2 separate regions of the Homo sapiens genome follow, and region 2 is linked to region 1. The links are contacts of gene promoters, found by promoter capture Hi-C in blood cells and fetal thymus (Javierre and others, 2016). All regions are on one chromosome and are shown on one strand. The core of a region is centred on a gene start or on the middle of the fragment in contact, and the rest is flanking DNA. Distances in the headings are between cores, read along the strand shown.

What was found. Contacts are between HindIII fragments. The CHiCAGO score rates a contact against its expected background, and 5 or more counts as called.
Region 2: a contact is called between a fragment that was not itself captured here and the fragment with the promoter of SNX7 in region 1, in 1 of 17 cell types (neutrophils). The highest score is 5.3, in neutrophils.

The regions. Positions count from the first base shown.
Region 1 is chr1:98,658,512-98,666,094 of GRCh38, reverse strand. It overlaps SNX7 (sorting nexin 7), which reads right to left and starts at 4,374. Exons shown (of 9, transcript NM_015976.5): 1 at 4,184-4,374. The coding sequence starts at 4,363. It overlaps SNX7-DT (SNX7 divergent transcript), which reads left to right and starts at 5,323. Exons shown (of 1, transcript NR_189290.1): 1 at 5,323-5,788. RefSeq lists silencers at 3,993-4,062, 4,293-4,412, 4,433-4,572. The HindIII fragment of the contact is 2,557 bases long and covers 2,583-5,139 here.
Region 2 is chr1:99,675,657-99,683,239 of GRCh38, reverse strand. All of the region lies in intron 3 of PALMD (palmdelphin), which reads right to left. Among named protein-coding and RNA genes, the nearest start is that of PALMD, 33 kb to the right of the region's middle. The HindIII fragment of the contact is 2,899 bases long and covers 1,806-4,704 here.

The DNA.
Region 1 (7,583 bases), core at 3,125-5,624:
GAATATATGTGAGAAATTAGTAAGCAGGACTTCCTAATCTTTTTCTAATTATTTGATAGAATAGATGAATAGTATAATTATGCCGCTCCATCACTATACTGAATTTCCAAATTGACAAAGAAAAAAATATATATATACATATAAAGATATGTATACATGTGTATGTTAGATGTCTCAACTTTATTCTTTCAGAAATAAACTTTTCAGCTGGGCACGGTGGCTCACGCCTGTAATCCCTGCACTTTGGGAGGCCGAGACGGGTGGATCACTTGAGGTCAGGAGTTTGAGACCAGCCTGGCCAACATGATGAAACCCTGTCTCTACTAAAAATACAAAAAATTAGCCAGGCATGGTGGCGCATGCCTGTAATCCCAGCTACTCAGGAGGCTGAGGCAGGAGAATTGCTTGAACCCGGGAGGCAGAGGTTGCAGTGAGCCAAGATTGTGCCACTGCACTCCAACCTAGATAATAAGAGCAAAACTCCATCTCAAAAAATAAACAAATAAATAAATAACCTTTTCTGAAGAAATGAGTGATTTTTTTCAAAAGCCTTGCTCAATCATGTCATTATAACTCTGATTTACCATAAACACAATCTTAAGTCTTTCATTATTCTTATAAAACTTGTAGCTTCTATTGATCATGTTTTTTTCAAAGTGTGTATAAACAACATACTAAATAATTCATTTCATGGCTTTTTTGGAGATTGAAATGAAACCTACTGTTCGCTACCTTCCAGAACTCCCATTTTGCCCATTATTTTTAAAAACAATATTTACCTATCTCTAGTTTCAGGGAACCATTATTGCATTTCATGATTTCTCAAAGATGACTAGTGGTGATGAGGATGATTACACCTGTAAGTTCCCTGATTATCCTAGATGATATATATCTCACTTTTATGATCCCGAATATCTTTAAAGAGGCCAATTAGAGCTATCATTTACTGAGTACCAGATAAGCATCTCAGTGCTTCATTGTGGCCTAATCACATACACTGTATCCACAGCTGTTTCTTTTATACAGTATTCAATAAAAATAAAGGCAATTTATTTTAATTTATTGTTTTTCCCCAAAGAGGAGGATTTTTTCCTTTAAACGTGAAGAAACTGGCCCTTTTTCTCCAGTTAAATTTTTTGGAAGCCTCATCTCATTGTGACCTAGTTCTAAAATAATTCTTAGGCTCTTGTTACCATTTGTGTATCTTTTTTATTTTTTTATTTTTACTGTTTTTGTATGATTGGTTCTGTTCTCTTCCTTCTAACATCTATCCCCGTTCTTTTAAATCAATGTCCTCTGCATTCTCTTGAGGTCTGGCATCATTTTCTTCTCACTGGATTATAAGAAAATTCAGAACAACTTTGTTTTACTTTCCATCCCTCTTGATTTATATTGCCATTTAGAGTTTGTCACATCTTCCCACCTGGAGTATAAGATTGTGATAGCAAGAACTAAATCTTGTATTTCTTTTTTTTAAAGCATACTTAACACAAAATGTATATTTGCCATGTACTTGTAATACGTTGTGGAAAAAAAATAATAAGAAGTTGTTTTGTTTTTCTTTTGAGACAGAGTCTCACTCCGTCACTCAGGTGGGAATGCAGTGGCGTGATCTCTCAGCCCACTGCAACCTCTGCATCCCGGGTTCAAGAGATTCTCCTGCCTCAGCTTCCCGGTTAGCTAGGATTAAAGGCTCCCACCACCACACCCGGCTAATTTTTATATTTTTAGTAAAGATGGGGTTTCACTATGTTGGCCAGGCTGGTTGTGAACTCCTGACTTCAAGTGATCCGCTAGCCTCAGCCTCCCAAAGTGCTGGGGAAATTCATACTCTTTAAAAAGCTTCTGGAAGAGTATACCAGACACATATTCACAAATAATCTAAGAGAATAAGGGGACTATAAAGGTGAATGTAAATTAAATATGTAGTTTGCCAATCTCAAATTACTAAAAGGGAAGGACAGTTTGCTTCATAAGTAATTGTGAGATTCCATCCTAGGATAGGCTGAACAGCAGTGGTGTTTGTTTTATAGAGGAGCAGGCAAGGAAGGTAGTGGAAAGGGAAGGCCACGTGGAGCAGGCTTTCTTAAATTTGCTTAACTACAGATAACGGTTGAGAAATTCAACTTACTGAAATGGATGAAAGTGGCTAATTTTAAACTTTTCCAACTACTCTTGTTGGATTTTCACTAATATTATATCTTTGCCTTAATCTATGTGGGCAGTTTCTACAGAAGTTGTTCTTAACTTTTTCTAAGCATCCAACACGCGCAGTTAACACTAACAAGCAGGGTGGACCCAGGTGTACGGGCTTTTAGAGTTTGGAAGGTCCCCTTTTAAAAGAATACAAAATTAGGTGGAAAAACACATTATTCAGAATGAGAAAAGAAATCTCAATAAATGATTGGAGCCATGGAGATCTAGATTCCTTAGTCTGAGAGAGCTTTAGGCAATTCACCAGAAATGCTTATTTAGAAATGCTTCTGGTCGGGACCTGTCATTTCCTTCCCACCTAGAACATCTGCGACTCCAGCAACCCCCAACACGCCCAGAGGTCTAAGCAAACGAATAGCGCTGAAGCTTCAATTTCATTAGCTTCACCTTGGATCTGCCTCTGACAAGAGGACCTCATTTAAACATTGATTCTTAAGAGTCAGCTAGAACACCTAGAATCTGGGGAAAGAGAAACCACTTGACAAGTTTAAAACAATCCGAGTCACTGTGGCTCAAGCCTGTAATCCCAAACCCTTTGGGTGCTGGAGGTGGTAGAATCCCTTGAGGCCAGATGGGTCCAGCCCCGACAAAAAAAAAAAAAAAAAAAAAAAAAAAAAAAAAAAAAAACCAGAAAGAAACCCTGATGATTCTGATACACCATTGCTATTTCCAACATCCCATCCCAAAGTTTCACAATGCATAACCATAGACTAATATTCCTTATCCAAACAGCAATGTAAAGAAGGAAAGAAAGTAAATAACCAACTGGCCAACTGTCGTTGATCTGAACATGAAGTATGTGTGGAATATAAAAAGGCAGAGTTTACAACTAAACATAAAATAATTCCATTGTTTTACTACTTAACAGAAAAGTCAAGAGCACAAAACTGTGATAGTCTGTTTAAATATTCGGAATACAAACCTGGGCCTATCATTCCATTTAAACCGAAGTAGAAATAAGTTTTATATACTCCTCTTTGGAGTCAGAGTATGCATGGTCACTTCCTAACTTTGGTTTGCTCTCCCAGAGTAAATGCGGTGGTTAAGTAGGTCGTTTGCTTTACCTAATATCTCCAGGTAACGTTAAAATGAACAGGCTTCTTAGTAATGAATACAGCGTTGTGATCTGAACTCAGGTCTTCTCTCAGCAGCAACTTGAGAAACTGGAGTGACATTCAACCTCCCTGCAAGAAAGGTATTTTTCTTTTCTAAAACCCTTTAAGAAATTACAAACACCAGTCTACACGTACCAAAAGTCTACCACTAGCCCCCACAAGTCAATTTCCCTCCAACAGTAAAATAAGCAAATAAGAGCCTTTGGTCCTAAATTTCCCGGGGGCAAGGAAAAACGAAAGCACTGGCTGTGGGTTGGGTGGCAGTAGCTGACCATCTGAAAAATCCTTAGCTCCTCAGCGGAGGAGCTTCCTGTTAGAAACAACCGTTTTCTCCTGTTCAGGGAGATTTCCTAGAACCTATTCCCACAAGACCCGAGACTCACCCAAGTCTCAAATCCACAAGCAACAACACTAAATTAAGAATAATTTCTCTAAACTTGGCTGCTCTCCCAGAGTTCAGGGCTGGCCTCGCCCGAAAAGCAGCTGGCGGGAGCGGTTTTGAGCCACCAGCCTCCCAGGTTCGGGAGCTGCCGCGAGGAAGATGTCTGTGTCAGAGAAGCAGAAAGGGAAAACAAATCACAACTTTGCAGACTCCACTAAGCCACAGCCCCGCCGAACGGAAGGTCAAAGTGCGGAGGAGGGAGCGGCTGCGGTTTGAGGCCCCGAGGCGACGCGGCCCCGGGTGCGGCCAGAGCTGGCAGGCGGGGTCCAGCAGCCCGGGGGACCTCACTCGTCCCCAGCTCAGAGCCACCGCCCCGGGAGGGCAAGCGCGCCAGAGGCAGCCGTCGGCGCAATGCTGGCAACGCCCGGAGTTGCCTTGGAAGTTTCCCGGGACTCGCCGCCGCCGCCCTCACCTTGCTGAACACCTCCAGGTCGTCCTCGTCCTCGTCCAGATCCAGCACCTCCGCCTGCAGCAGGGCGGAAGAGCCACTGCTGCCCGGAAAGGGGGCGCCGCCCCCCGGGCTCTCCCCGTTGGCGCCCCCGGCCGGGAGGCCCGAGGAGGGCGCCTGCGATGCCCGGCGCTCGCCCTCCATCCCGAGAGTGCGCGCCCAGCCGGCCGCCACCGCCGCCGCCAGCCCGGCTCCCCCGAGCGTGCCCATTGGCTCCCACGTCTCCTGCACCTCCCCGGCCGGCCCCGCTCCAGCCCCTCGCCCGCTGCGCAGACGCGGAACTGCCGGGACCAGCGCTGGCCCGGGCCGGGCGCATCCCCACCTGGCCTGGGGCGGGCTGGAGGGGCGGAACTGGGACTCTCGGACTCCGGCTACGTTGGAGAAAGGGTTGGCTGTACCCTGGAGAAGAGGAGAGACTCAAAGGTAGGAGGTGGGCGTCCTCGCATTGACCCAGTCGGGGGCCACCGAGTGACGGTTTCCGCAGTGGCGGGGTCTGGGAAGAAGCCACGAAGCGAACCGTCCACTTCGCGGGATCCACAGCGAGGCTGGAAGGCACCCGACCCAGCCTTGCCAAGAGAAAAAAAAAAAACAGCAATAACAATACTGTATTTCCTGTATTCAGTGGTTGCCTTTCTTCTTGGTTGTGATTTTCGAGCTAATGTAAAAATAAAGACATGAAAACTTCCCGTTTTGTTAATTGATTTTTGACCCAGTGACTGGCCTGTGCGGTCATTTCACTGTCGAGCCAGGAAAGCTGAGCTTTACAAACTATTTTCAGCCACTTTCAAATGCATCTTTACTCCTGGACGTCTTCCTGAAGTTAATGAGCAGAATGTTACCAAGACCCAAGGACAACTAGCAAGTCTGGAAAATTGCCACCGAGAAATAATCTTCAGTCCTTGCATTGCCAAGGCAAAGCTTTAATTATTTAACTGCTTATTATTCAAAAACAAAACTAAGTTCCAAAACTAATGGAAAATTTTGCCCACGTTGATATATTCTTTAATTTATCTTCAGGTTTTATTTACTTCCGTCAGCCCCACCTCTTTTCTGTAGGCCCATTTAAAAATTTTTAAATACATTAAGCTCTATGTAAGAATTCCTTATTTGGGGAAATAGAGAATATCTTTATTTCTGATTAGAGGCAAGGCCTTAATAATATATTATCTCCTAATCATTCAAATGTATTCCCATTGATTTCAGACGTGCACCCACCCTTCAGTCAGGTTGGTCACTGCCCCATGAGTATCCACATTTGTTTCTGTGCTTGATGATTTCTGTACTTTAAATGCCATCTCCTGCCCATCCTTCAGAAATTAAATATAGTCCCATCTCTTTCAGAAAGACTTTCTAAATGACAGTCTGTTCTCAATTTAGCATTTAATTTTATTCCATCTTGCAGATTGTATTTGTTTCATGTACAAGTTTTCCATTCCTTAGTAAATGATAACATTTTCAGGTTGAGGATCCTGATATGTATTAACCACAGTATCAGATGTACTCTCAAAATGCTCTCTGCTAATTTCTGTAAATAATATAAGTTATTAAAAGACTTTATTTTTTCCTTGATAAGCTTATTCTGACTAGTAAGGAAGATTCAAGGTTTTCTAATTGCAATCTGAACCAGGAAATTCTTAATAATGCTGTAACTCACAGAATTGCTAGAAACCATAGAGAATGGGCTCAGAAAATGGGCAGAATAAAGCAAGGCTGCACAGCTTGGATTATAGCCAAAAGCAAGGCCACAGAACCAGTGGTACAGACATTGCTGCTACCATTGCCTGATACTGGTTGCCACACCATCTTCACCAGTGTCAATATTGTCATTAACACTGATGTTACTGGACTCCAGTTGCTTTCCCTGGCAGCAGTACCACAGCTACCTCTGAGAACTTCCCTGCTATTACTGCCACAAAAATGTCTCCATCACCCTGTTTCTCTGTGTTGATTTTTCTAGTATTAAAACCCTGGAGAGTATGTGTGCTTGGCCAATCTGGCCAAGTTTCATGGAAATTCCTAAGGCAGAGAATTTTCTAAACATAGAAAGGCCATATTGATGCTTGTCAACCAAAAACAAGAAAAATAGGAAGAGGGGTAGGATGAGGAAGAAGAGTAGGGAAAACGTGACTATAATTTGCCCCTTTGGCTGTCCAATTAATATTACCTTTCTTCACATACTCCCCCTACCTCCATGCTTTGAGCACCTGAGCATGCAGTTCACAGCCCCTCAAAGGGAGATAATCCCAAACCTACTCATTATTAGTACAACTCCAAAGCAGTATGTCTATTCCTCCTGTAGTCTCAGCTTCCTATTAAGTGGGACTATCACTGGGTTTTTTTGTTTGTTTGTTTGTTTGTTTTTGAGACAGAGTCTCACTCCCTCGCCGAGGCTAGAGTGCAGTGGCGTGATCTCTGCTCACTGCAACCTCCGCCTCCCGGGTTCAAGCGATTCTCCTGCCTCAGCCTCCTGAGTAGGTGGGACTACAGGCGTGCGCCACCACGCCCAGCTAATTTTTTGTATTTTTAGTAGAGACAGGGTTTCACCATGTTGGCCAGAATGGTCTCGATCTCTTGACTGCATGATCCACCCGCCTCGGCCTCCCAAAGTGCTGGGATTACAGGCTTAAGCCACCGTGCCCAGCCTATCACTAGGTTTTTTAATGGAAGAATTCTTACTTGGGTACTAAAGCCTTTAAACCAGCATAGTCCAAAACTTGGAGTGCAAGTATAATATTAAGAGCAGCCCTACCCACTCCTGTCCTGTTTAAGAGAAATAATATCATACATTAATTTATGGTTTCATGAATATACATCTTGTCAAAAAGCTTTCTCTCCCTTATACTTTCCAGATGGGATCTCTTCAGACCATAACTGGATCTTTAATATTCAATTCCACCATCTATGAAGTCTGCTGTTTCTAGTAATGGGTTTTGTGATGAGACAAGTTACCCCATGGGCATTGCCCAAAGGCTTTACTTCTTTTGCTAGAAAGTGATTTAACTAGTTAGAAAAAAATATAATGTGCAAAATCTACTGAGGAATAGACCAGTCAATAAGTTCATGGACGAGCGTGTTGAGGGAAATCTGATGAGCAGAAAAAGCAAAGCCAATTTGACTTTTCCACTAAAGACAAATCATGGCATCCTCCAGTGTGGCAGGGTAAGGGTCCTGCATAGTTGCTGTGGCAAGCTGAGTGCTGAGCAATGGAAGCAGCCAATTATCCTTTAGTGAGAGGAAATCCTTATTTTTGAGCCAATGCATAGCATAAATCCCTGCCACCATGGCCACATGGTATGTGAAGCCATAGAACAAGCACTGGAGTTTCTAGAAAAGCAGTAAGATTAACATCCACAGGAGAATAAGC
Region 2 (7,583 bases), core at 2,006-4,505, 1.0 Mb before region 1:
CAAGGCCTGAATCTGGAGCAATTCAACATTTAGAGATCTGGTCAATGTTAACAACTTCATAGGGTGTTCGTTTCTTTCTTTCTTTCTTTCTTTCTTTCTTTCTTTCTTTCTTTCTTTCTTTCTTTCTTTCTTTCTTTCTTTCTTTCTTTCTCTCTCTCTCTCTCTCTCTCTCTCTCTCTCTCTCTTTCTTTCTTTCTTTCTTTCTTTCTTTCTTTCTTTCCTTCTTTCTTTTTGGAGACAGAGTCTTGCTCTGTCACCCAGGCTGAAGTGTAGTGGTGCAATCTCGGCTCACTGTAACCTCTGCCTCCCAGGTTCGAGCGATTCTCCTGACTCAGCCTCCTGAGTAGCTGGGACTACAGGAGTGCACCACGACGCCTGGCTAATTTTTGTATTTTTAGTAGAGATGGGCTTTCACCATGTTGACCAGGCTGGTCTCAAACTCCTGACCTCAAGTGATCTGCTTGCCTCGGCCTCTCAAAGTGCTGGGATTACAGGCATGAGCCCGATGACTTCAGCTAGTTTCTTCCTGTCTCTGCCCCTTTCTTTTCCTGGGGCATAGAGACAAAGCTCCTGGTCTGCTTGGCCAATGACACCTTAGGGAATTTTGAAATGCACTGGTGTTTGTTGTTGTTTCTCTCTGAAGATAAAGCCGTGGGTAATGTAATGCCATATGATTCATCCCAAGAATCTCTTTAGACTAATATGGTAAGAATATGAGGTTGAAAGCCTGCAAACCTCATCAGCGTATCTGTTAATGAATATTTTTGAAGGTTTTCAAGTCACTGGATGAAAGTTGCATTAATAAGTCGCTGTGGTCTCACAATACATCATGACATGTTTGTGAAAACTAAACATAAACAAACACCTCCCTCCCATTCTTTATCCCTTAGTCACAGCCAACTCTGAGTTGAAAAGGATAACTAGGAAACATCTTGGTACTAATTACTTAGAATCACAAACCTCTAACAGGAGATGCCTACTGATGTAGAACATTTCCTAAAATTTCCACTTCAATGCAAAACTTGACTTCTTATTTTTGTATGTTGATTTGATACTTCAAATATTTATGGACAATATAAATATCAGATGAATGTTAGAGATTTGCTGCTCTAGAAAAGCTTTCTAAAAGATCAGAATGCTAATGGAAATGATGAGAGACTTAGAAAGCATAACTGAGAGTAAGGAACTGGATGCTCCCAGAACCCCCGCAACCTCCTCCACTTGGTCAGAAGTCAGCAGTAGCCCAGCAATGGAGAAGAGGAGGTTTGACAACCTGTACACCAGATAATGCACTGAGTTTTTGAGGACTGACTGTCCTTAAGGAGCATAAAACAAAAATTGCAACTAGTAGGCAGGGCAATTTTTGTGTATCTAGTACAGTGGTTCGTAACCAGAGGCGATTTTGTTCCCTGGGGATATTTGGCAAAGTCTGGAGACAGTTTTGCTTCTCATAACTTGGCGAGGGTGAGGGGTGCTGCTGACATCTAGTGGGTAGAGGCCAGGGATGGTGCTGAATGTCCTGTCATGCACAGAACAGTTTCCTCACAACAAAGAATGATTTAGCCCAAAGTGTCAATAGTGCTGAGGTTGAGGAATCCTGGATACCTAAAAGAATGCCTGGTATAGTGTAAGTTCTTGATAGGTACTTTATAAGGAATTTGTTTATATCCATTTCTTTTATATTTTTATTTTTTTCCTCATTATTCCTTCCCATTCCAAGATACATATACGTTTGTGTATCTGTTGTTTTTCCTTGTTCAATGACCATTCATAGTTAAGAGAATATTCGGCCCTGATTTAAAGCTTAAACAATGCAAGACTTAAATTAGGGACTCATTCCTAATCCCTTCCCAAAGGTAGTTTTGGGGAAGAGAAAAAATTTGGCAAGTATAAATGAAGTATTGGGAAAATATATAGGATGGAATTTGAAATCAGATATTTACTTACAGAGTCTGAACTCTTACTCCTCTCCAATTAGCCACTATAGAAAAAATATATATATTCCTTAGGGTTATTTTGTTGTACTGGGGATTTTTCTGCTCAGCGGGTTAGTCCATCTAACAAGGATTAAAGTCCGGGCTCTATACATATATATATATACATACACACACACACACACACACACACACACACATATATACACACACATATATGTATATATATAGTCTATTTGCTGGGGAAAAAGAGGGTTATTTTCAAGAGCTCCTTGGGTAAAAGCAGGTAGCTTTCATTTCATGAACTGTTGCAGGAATAACCTCCCTTAATCATCATGAGATAATGTCTCCAATCCAATTCCAACATGCAATTTTTTGTCTTGGAAAAAAGGACAGCACATAAATGCTGGATGCATCAGGAAGAGGTTTTCCAGAAGGCAATATATATATATATGCATATATATACACACATATACACATACATGTATGCATGTACATAGATATACACACATATATGTGTATGTATGTGTGTTTATGTGTGGGTGTATATACATATATATGTAAAATTAAAATTTTTTCAAATGGAGAGCTTTTGGGGAGGTTACTGTGGGGTAACTCTCTAACTTTCACATGCCTATCTTTCAGCTGATGGGTTAGAATTTCCATAAGTGCTGCCGTCCCCATCTTTAGAAGGTATTACCTTTCAGAATGGGAATTGAGCTCCTTGAAATGCTGATTCAGTTTGGTGAGGAACAGGCAGCAGAGAAAGAGAAATATCCTCCTTGGTGCCTCCCAGGCTGTTAGGTGGGGCTTGATGGATGAGTCAGTACCTCTCACAATTTCTGAGAGATGGTGGGCAGGCATCATGTGCCAATTTAGATAAGCAGAGTACATGAAAAAGGATTTGTAATGCTATCCATTATTGGAATCTTGCTTTTCCTTGCCTATTCACTGGGGAAAAAGAGGGTTATTTTCAAGAGCTCCCTGGGTAAAAGCAGGTAGCTTTCATTTCATGAACTGTTGTAGTAATAACCTCCCTTAATCATCACGAGATAATGTCTCCAATCCAATTCCAACATGCAATTTTTTGTCTTGGAAAAAAGGACAGCACATAAATGCTGGATGCATCAGGAAGAGGTTATTTCAGAAGGCAATTTTTCTGCTGCTAAGGGTCCATTTATCTCTCTCAGCTTTTGGTGGAGTTAACAAGGACTCACAACCTGATAGAGTTTGCCATTAGGGGCCAAACAGATTGGAACTCATGAGGGGAAAAACCACACAAACCAAAATTCAAAAGTCATCATCCTACCTTTCAGTACTTCATGTGTTAGCATTTATAACATTTAACACATATTGCATATTTCCATTGCACCAGGCACTGGCCTATTTCGTCCTTACAGCAACCCCCATGAGCACTGTTGTTAGTTCCAATTGACAGATGAGCAAGCTGGGCACCTAGAAAGGCAACCGGCCCAGAGTCTCACAGGCAGCCTGAGGCAGGATGGAATTTGAAATCAGATCTTTACTTACAGAGTCTGAACTCTTAACTCCTCTCCAATTAGCCACTGTAGAAAGAAAACTTAAAAAAATTGATTCTTAGGAGCTTAGACACAACATTCATTTAGCTCAGCAGTATTAAGGGATTTTTTACTTTCTATGATAATGAAGGAAGTGAAGATTGAAATGATAGCTGGGGCCCACGAGTGTGTAAACGTGTTGACCCATTATATACAAAGGTAATATTTCTGTCCTAATCTTCGTTAGGGTTATTTTTCTGTACTGGGGATTTTTCTGCTCAGTGGGTTAGTCCATCTAACAAGGATTGAAGTCCGGGCTTTATCTTTTTTTTTCCTTTTGGCTGCTTGACTTTGGTTCTGGTAGGAGTTCTTAGAACGGTCTCCTTCAAAGAATCTGGGGTTTCCTAAGCTAATGCCACTTTATAGCAAGACTTTCTTTGCTTCCACACAAGACTGTGTTGTTTAAAGTAATTAAAGCAGTAGGTCTTAAATATAAAGCTGGCTAATGCAATTTGATTGTATTACTGCAGTTTCAATGTAACTACCAATGCTAGGTATGAAATTAAGTTTATGACTGGCTCTTATCTATACTTTGAAGGGACTGATGAATTACTTGCGTTTCAGTAGCCCAAACTCTCTTATTAAAAGCCAGGACTACACCTAAAGAGAGGGTCCAATGGCTATTTCTCTGGGATGGCCTGAGTCAGCAGGTGTTATGCCACTACTGATGTGCCTCTGAGGCCGGTCGATGGAAGTGCTAGGACCAAACCCCCACCCCCAACATTCCCCAAGCTAGATAAAGAAGGATTTTTTTTTTTTTTTAAGAGTCAAGGTATCCCTGTATTGCCCAGGCTTGTCTTTAACTCCTGGGCTCAAGAGATCCTCCCGCCTTGCCTTGGCCTCCCTAAAAGCTGGGATTACAGGTGTGAGCCACCATGTCCAGCTGGATCCAGTTTCTTTTGGGACTCACAGGCTCTCAGAGTGTCTTTGCCTCTGATAAGTATTGAATTCTGCCTAGAGTGGTGAGCAATTCTAGCTTGATTCTCCCCTAGAGATTCTCTTCCCTTTCTTCCCCACTAAATCTTGGGAGAACAGGAAACAGCTGGTGGTTTACCTATATTTTGTGAGTTTTTTTGTGAAAGCCCACTTTCTCAGGGGAAAAAAAGACTTTTTACAGCTCTACCCATGGAAACAGAAAATGAACCCATCTCAAAGCTAATACACTTGGCTTAATCATTTAACCCCTCCAAGCTTTTTTTCTCATTTAGGGAATAATAGTAGTATTCACTAAAGGTTGTCTTAAGGAATTAATTGAGGTAATTGTTCATAAACCCCTACAACAGGGCTTGATGTAGAGGAGTTCCTTAGTAAAGATGAGTTACTGGGCCAGGCGTGGTGGCTTAGGCCTGTAATCCCAGCACTTTGGGAGGCTGAGGCGAGTGGATAACTTGAGATCAGGAGTTCGAGACCAGCCCGGCCAACATGGTGAAACCTTGTCTCTACTAAAAATACAAAAATTAGCTGGGCATGGTGGCACGCACCTATATAATCCCAGTACTCGGGAGGCTGAGTCAGGAGAATCGCTTGAATCTGGGAGGCAGAGGTCGCAGTGAGTTCATGCCACGGCACTCCAGCCTGGGTGACAGAGTGAGACAGTCTCAAAAAAAAAAAAAAAATAGAAAAGGACTTACACTTTTCTCCTTCTTAGTTTGCTTGAGAGAGGAGGACCACCTGTGACAACCCCATTGGAAGACAAAAATCTAGCAGGTCCATTTGGGTGTTTGATCTGCAACTTTAGCAAGCATGGTACTAATATAGATTCAGGGACACACTTGTCCTTGCAAATACTGATCTAAACAGAAAATCTCAACAGTGATCCAGCATGATTGGAAGAGTTGTAATAATATGTATGAGGATGATGTCTATTTAGTAAATGTGAGCAGAAAGAACATCCTAGTCTTTTTTGACAACCTGTCGTTTCCTCTCTCCACACCCCATCCCCAGTCCATTCTCCTTTTGTTCTTTTTAGTGATAGAATGCCCTGAGTTTTATACGACTTCCTGGCTACCTTGCTATGGACTACATTTCCCAGTGTCCTTGGCATTCAGATGGTACCATGTGAGTAAATTCTGGCCAACAGGGTATTAGCAGAATTGACATCTGCAACTGTCAGGTCATGCCATTAAAATTGAACTGCTTGTCCTCCATTTATCTTCCCTTCCTGAAGTGGAATGCAGATGAGGTAGTGAGCTGGCTTTGACTGTATAGCCAAGGGCATCCCTTAGGAGGTAGCAAAGCAACAAGGCAGAAAGAAATAGGGCCTCTAGATAACCTCATGTAACATTGATGCTCTCCTCTGCTTGAATGTCTACCAGTTAGGATTTGATGTATGTGAGAGAAATGAACCTTTCTATCTCATTTAAGGCACTGCTCTTGAGGACCCTTTTAAAGTGACAAAACCCATATGCTGACTATTGTGTAACTTTATGGGGAATGAATTGTAGTGTGACACATTTTATGAGATTTTTCATAATTTTTTTCATTGATTTGCAGAATTACTCATTAGTATCTTGCATTTCAGGTTGTTAACTAGAAAAACAGAAAAATTAATCAGTCTTTGCTCTCAGTGGTTAAAGGATTTATGTGTTTCTAAAAAATGTATCAAATCTGGCATGATATGTGTTGACAGCTGGCTACTACTGAATGGTTAAGGTTTGCAGTGAAAAATGAAAGGTCTTTTTACTTTTTTAAATCATAACTCATCTAAAATAATCTCTCTGGAAATTCAATGGCTATTATTGAGTACATACAGTTGACTTTAGTTATCTTGACTGCAGTGTGTTAGTCATATGTAATAGGCAGATAAATTACTACTGATGGGTCAGAGGTTAAAGATATTTCATCTTTGTAGATAATTTGGCCAATGGTAGTGCCAAACTACATTTTCTTAATAAAGTTGAGGGTCATGTAATATATTAGAAGGTGAGCTTTTTTTTTCTTTTTTTACTTTTTAAAGTTGGGGTTTAATAAATTTCATCAAAATATAACAAACCTTTATTAAGGACCTATTATATGTCAGGCATATTTTCTTCACTAAGCTGAAATAAAATCATTATCTTAAGTGAAATAACTCAGAAACAGACAAATACCACGTGTTCTAACGTATAAGTGGGTATGAAGTAATGTGTATATATGGACATATAGAGTGGAATACTAGCCACTGGAGACTCAGAAGGGTGAGAGGGTGGGAGGGGTATTAGGGATGAGAAATTACCTAATGGATACAATGAATATATTGGCTGATGATTGCACTAAAAGCCCAGACTTCACCACTATTCAGTGTATCCATATAACAAAACTGCACTTGTACCCCCTACATCTACAAAAATTTTTAAAAAGTGCGTATCAAAAAAGATGAAGAATAATTCAGTGCATAGACAGTAGGTGAGAACAAAAACTATCCAATATGGCTGGTGTCCTTAAAAAAAAGGAAGAAGAAGAACTGCCTTAGAACCAGCCATTGTCAAAGGGCATGTGTATAATAAGGAAGATCTAGCCTACTAGTGCAAACTGTCACATGCTAGTGGTAAGCATGCCAGAGAATTAAAGGGCATTTGGCATACAGCAAACACTAAGTTTGCCACAAGTCAGATCTATTGCCTCTAATCCTGAGCATTTAAGAATAGGACAAACAATACAATGCAGCAGTTTTAAGATAACAAGAAGCAGAGAGGCAAGGGAACAATGACATTAAAACAAGCATTAGTTTGCTCTGATGGTTGGGAACAGAGCAGATGTTTAGAAAGCTGACTGATTATATGTGAATAGCTTTTGCATGGGTGAATCTCATCTCCTAATATAACTCTGCAAATATTAATAATTATCTTATGGGCAGATGATAGTATCCTAATTTGAAACTGCCGTGTAGGCATGCAACGTTAGAAGAGAGTGATTTAGTAGAAAAGCAAACCCTCTTAATCAGAACAATATTTTGCAAATTGAGGGTTTCATTTGCCATGAAAAATAAGAAACCAAACTGGTTTTCAGAGAATCAGCCACTATCATGCACAAGTTATTAAACAAATGTCATTTTCAAATGAATGCAAATAAACATATAGTCTCAAGGTTGATG